Regions from separate parts of the Homo sapiens genome. Here region 1 is linked to region 2. Evidence: promoter capture Hi-C in human tissues and cell types (Jung and others, 2019). All regions are on one chromosome and are shown on one strand. The core of a region is centred on a gene start or on the middle of the fragment in contact, and the rest is flanking DNA. Distances in the headings are between cores, read along the strand shown.

Region 1 (2,700 bases), core at 48-2,547, 260 kb before region 2:
TGGGAGTCGGAGGCAGGAGGATCACTTGAACTCAGGAGGCAGAGGTTGCAGTGAGCCGAGATCGCGCCATGCACTCCAGCCTTGGCAACAGAGACAGACTCCATCTCAAAATAAATAAATAAATAAATAAATAAATAAATATAAAATAAAGATGTTTTAACTGAACTTTAGGTCAGATGCAGTGGCTCACACCTGTAATCCAAGCACTAAGAGAGGCCAAGGTGGGTATATTGCTTGAGCCCTGGAGTTTGAGTCCAGCCTAGACAACATGGCAAAACCCTGTCTCTACAAAAAGTACAAAGATTAGCTGGGTGTGGTGGTGTGCACCTGCAGTCCCAGTTACTGAGGAGGCTGAGGTGGGAGGATTGCATGAGCCTGCGAGGTTGAGGCTACAGTGAGCCATGATTGCACCACTGCACTCCAGCCTGGGCAACAGAGTGAGACCCTCTCTCAAAAAAAAAAAAAAGTAAAAAATAAAAAATGAACTTTAGTTTGGAGAAAGGTACAAATAAATTGAACCCACAGTATTGAGGGAATCTTGATAAGCAGCAGTCACTGTAGTAGTAATAACAGTAGTGCTAATAACAATGCTAAGATTTATTGAACATTTTGTTGGATGTTGCTCTAAGCACTTTTCTTACATTAACCCATTTCCTCACACTCTAACCCTATTATTATGCCCATTTTCTAAATAAGAAAACTGAGGCATCAAGGATTAAATAACTTACCCATCATAAGAAAGCTAATGGACAAGTGGACAAGTTTCCACCACCAACAATCAGTTTCAGAACAGGACCTCTAATGAGAAACTAAGGAGGAAAGTCTTGAAAATATAATCTAACAATTAAAACAATCATCAAAATTAACTGAGTCTTTCTCTAAAGATATTTTACTATTCTAAAATAATTCAGTGACTCAGTCAACCAATTCAATATTTATTGAATGTCTTCTATGACAAGCCCTTTGCCCAGGTACTATGGATGAAATGATGACTATAATAGATATGATTCGTCTACAGATATATTTCAGTATCTTTCATACTGCAAACACACAGTTCTAGGTTGCCACCCCAAATTCACAGAGTCTATAAAGAACTTAATCGGACAAGTAAAAAACAACGCCATTAAAAAGTTTGCAAAAAGCATGAACAGACACTTCTTAAGAGAAGACACACAAGTGGCCAACGAATATATTAAAATGCTCAACATTACTAATCATCAGAGAAATGCAAATCAAAACCATCTCACACCAATCAGAATGGCTATCATTATTATTATATTTTTTTGAAACAGGGTCTCGCCCTGTCACCTATGCTGGAGTGCTGTGGCGTGATCATGGCTTACTGCAGCCTCAACTTCCTGGGCTCAAGCAATCCTCCCCACCTCAGCCTCCCAGTAGCTGGGAGCAGCACGTGCCATCACACCTGGCTAATTATTGTATTTTTTGTAGAGACAAGGTTTCTCAATGTTGCCCTAGGCTGGTCTCAAACTGCTGAGCTCAAGCCCGCCTCAGCCACCCAAAGTGCTCGGATTACAAGCGTGAGCCACCACACCTGGCCAGAATGGTTATTATTAAGAAGTCAAGAAACAACAGGTGCTGGTGAGGCTGTGGAGAAAAGGAACACTTATACATTGTTGGTGGGAATGTAAATTAGTTTAGCTGCTGTGGAAAGCAGTTTGGAGATTTATCAAAGAACTTAAAACAGAACTACCATTCAACCCCGTAATCCCATTACTGGGTATATATCCAAAAGAAAATAAATCATTCTACCAAAAAGACATATGCACTTGTAGGTTCATCACAGTGCTATTCATAATAGCAAAGACATGGAATCAACCTAGGTGTCCATCAACAGTGGATTAGATTTTTTTAAATATGGCATATATACACCATGGACTATGATGCAGCCATAATAAACAATGAAATCACGTCCTTTTCAACAAGATGGATGCAGCTGGAGGCCATTATTCTAAGCAAATTAATGCAGAAACAGAAAACCAAATACTGCATGTTCTCACTTATAAGCGGGAGCTAAACATTAGGTACTTATGAACATAAAGGTGTGAGCAATAGATACTAGGGACTAATAGAGATGGGGAAAGAGAAAGAGGGGTAGGAGTTGAAAAATTATTGGGTACTATGCTCACTATTTGGGTGATGGGATCATTTGTATCCCAAGCTTCAGCATCACACTATATACCCTGTAACAAACCTGCACATGTACCCCCTGTGTCCAAAATAAAAGTTGAAATTGTAAAAAATAAACAATTCACAGAAAACATTGTCAGGCTTCTGCTGAAAATAGGGCTACTGAATCTAAATCAACAGATTGCAAGGGAGAGAATATCAGATTCTTGGCCATGGAGCTAACCAAAGAACATAGTTATTGAGATTAAAGTACTCAGAGCTTTATTCCCTCAGTCAGCTAATTAGATAGATCCTGATGAAACAGGTCAGACAAACAACTGTAGCTATCCTCATATTATTAGAAATACTGGTCAGGTGTGGTGGCTCACACCTGTAATCCCAGCACTTTGGGAGGCCAAGGCAGGTAGGTTGCTTGGATCCAGGAGTTCGGGACCAGCCATGGGTAACATGGTGAAACCTTGTCTCCACAAAAAAAAAAAAAAAAAAAAAAAAAAAAAAAAGCCAGGCATGGTGGTGCATGCATGCCTGTAGTCCCAGCTACTTGGGAGGCTG
Region 2 (2,700 bases), core at 107-2,606:
GCCCCGCAGAGAGCAGCGGGGGACCGCAGAAAAGGAAGCGGTAGCCCCTGCGAGGACGCCGAGGAGGAGAGGGGCCACCGGAGGGAAGGCTCCCGGGGAGGGGCCGGCGCATCCGGGGAGGGGGCTCAGTCACCGCGTCCTGGGCTTCCCCCGCCCCTCCTGTCGCCGGTTGCGGACTCTGCGCGGCTACAGCGCGAGATCTGCTAGGAACAATCCTCCGCCAAGCTGTTGCATCGCAAATAAAATCCTAATGAGCTCCCTCCCCCTTCCCCTTGGCCGGCTTTTACGGTCTGCGCGTGGCGCGGGGAGCTCTGCCAGCCGCACGGCCCCGGGCAGCCCAGTGCGCTCCGGCCCTTGCCCTCGCCGGCTCTCGGCCTCGCTGGCCGCTGGCCCCGGCCCCCGCCAGCTCCTCTCCCGGCCGTCGCCGGTCTCTGGCCGGGCTTTCAGCTGGGGCCTCCGGGAGAGAGGGGGAAAGAGGGCCGAGAGAGCTGCAAGTCGATCCCCGAGCCCCTGTTCCCCGCAGGACTTGGAGAAGTGGGGGCAGCGCTCCTCTGGCGGCCTCAGTCTCCCCTTCTAGAGCACGCAGCTTTCCCCTTCCCTCCGTCTTTCCTTCCTCTCCCCTCCTCCTCCCGGCCCGCTCTCCGGCCACCGCCGCAGTTTCCCTTCACATTGTCCGCAGTTTATTGCCTTTCCCCTCCCCGCCCCCCTCCTGGCCTTCGGCCTGGGTATTTCCTCACTTTTTATAACTTACTTTGATCCGGCCTCTCTTTGTCCTCGCTTCCTTCGCAAATTTTATTGTCCCCGTAGCCGGGTCTTTGATTAGACAGCACGGCCTCCCTGCCCGCCGAAGTTTCCAAACTGTACTCGGGCGTGCCCTGTTTGAGCAGCTCCCCAGGCGCGCCCAGCAGCGGCTCCGCCTTCACCGCCGCCTGGCCCTGCCCCGGGGCCGCTTCGCCGCGCGGCGCCGGCTCCAGCCAGGTGCGGAGGTACCTGCTCTCGGCCGGCGGGACGCCCTGGGGCTGGATGTAAGGGTGGTAGACGGACGGCAGGCTCCCGGACGCGTGCGGGCTCAGCGGCGCCCAGGAGGCGCCGAACACCGGCGCTTTGGGCTGGAAGCTGCACGAGGGGAACTCCAGGTGCTCCGCGTGGCCCGGCTGCCGCGAGCTCGCGTACTGGCCAGAAGGAAACTTGGCTGGAGGCGCGTCCTCACTCTCGTGACTTATGATCGAGTCGACATAATAGCTGCTAAGCGTCCCAGAAATGGACATTCTCAGACATTATCCGGGCGCTTGCAGGGGGAAGGGAAGCGCTCGCGCGGCGGCGCCCAAGCAGGGAGAGGTGGCACCCGGACCGGTGTGAGGGCTTTCGGACGCGACCCCCCCAGCCCCCCACCCTCCCACCCCCACCCCCTGCTCAACTTCTCAGCCAACAAAGTACAGTGGAGCAGCCCGTCTCAGCTCTCCTTGCAAAATGATTGGTCAAAGTTTTTCCGACTGCCTGATAAAGCGTCAGCTCCGACATAAATCAATCGGGCGAGGGGGCTGCGCTCTCGCTGTCATCCGTCCGCACCGCACTCCATATCGAGGATGGATTGTTTTATGCTGATGCAATGTGCTATCACGTCAGGGCTCCGGCGGCCACGTAACCTCAGCCCCAGCTACCGGCCGCCCGGTCCCCCCCTCCCGCTGCAGGAAGGGGGGCAGTTCTCAACATGGGGCGGCGGGGGCGGAGGAGAGGCGGAGGGAAGCGGCGGGCTGCCTTGGGAGGGACGCAGGCTGTAGAGCCCTCTCCCCAGGCGGGTCGGGGAGGGAGGGAGAGCAAGGGCGGAGGGAGGGAGAGAGCCCCAGCCCGGGGAGAAGCCATAGAGGCCCGAGAGGATACTGGAAGAGGAGGTGCTCCTGTCCCCCCACACACACCTCCACCCCGCAGGCCCTCATTTCCTCTTCTCTTTCCCCTTGACAAAAGATGTTTATTAAACAACAACAGCAGCAGCAATCCACAGGAGATGAAGTAAAATGATGAGGGGAAAAGTTGGGGATTTTAGGACGTTGTCCGCTTTGGAGGGGGCTCTCCTTGCACTCTTTGTAGAGATTTACATGACTGCGAGCTTCCCTGGGCCCCTCAGTAGCTGAGGGAGGAGGAGAGAGGTGAATAAAACGACTGAGTGTCCAAGAATCCACTATCTGTCCTGAAATTAGAAACTACTTGAGGTTAAAGGGATCCATCAGGTCCCGGAAACGTGAGCCTAGGAAAGAGTTTAATACAAGGAACCAGAGCGCCTTTACATTTATTGGGCCTTTCTCTGACTCTGGCCAGAAGGATGGATTTAAGATGGTGGTGGTGACGTGGGGGGTGGGGGTGAGGGAAGCCATTTCTCCTTTTCTCCACTGAATAACCACCCAGGCCCCTAAATTTGCCCTGATGAGGGAGCTAAATAGGAGAAAGGGTTAAGGCCACTTTCCTGAGGTGTGACCAGAGCAGAGGCCTGGGAAAGGATCCCCAGTCAGCAAGGGAAGGGGTCCCAAGTTATCTCCCCTTCCATCCAAAGAGGAAGGAGCCTGGGCTGAGTTTTCAGCCCTCCTGTACTACTCCTCTCACCTGAGGCTCCTGCTCTGGAGATTTCCAAACACCGATATAGGGGCCAGTGTGGACAGCGAGCCCATGGTCAGTCTCTTCCCCTCACTGCCTTACCCCCTGCAG

What was found. Contacts are between HindIII fragments. The study calls those that stand out against the background at their distance.
Region 1: a fragment that was not itself captured here is called in contact with the fragment with the promoter of HOXB9 in region 2 in 2 of the 25 tissues and cell types used here (IMR-90 fibroblasts and heart left ventricle).

The regions. Positions count from the first base shown.
Region 1 is chr17:48,369,039-48,371,738 of GRCh38, forward strand. All of the region lies in intron 2 of SKAP1 (src kinase associated phosphoprotein 1), which reads right to left. Among named protein-coding and RNA genes, the nearest start is that of SKAP1, 60 kb to the right of the region's middle. The HindIII fragment of the contact is 6,067 bases long and covers 1-2,700 here.
Region 2 is chr17:48,625,002-48,627,701 of GRCh38, forward strand. HOXB9 (homeobox B9) reads right to left here and starts at 1,357. Exons shown (of 2, transcript NM_024017.5): 1 at 752-1,357. The coding sequence starts at 1,268. RefSeq lists an enhancer at 210-887 and a silencer at 2,298-2,453. The HindIII fragment of the contact is 6,922 bases long and covers 1-2,700 here.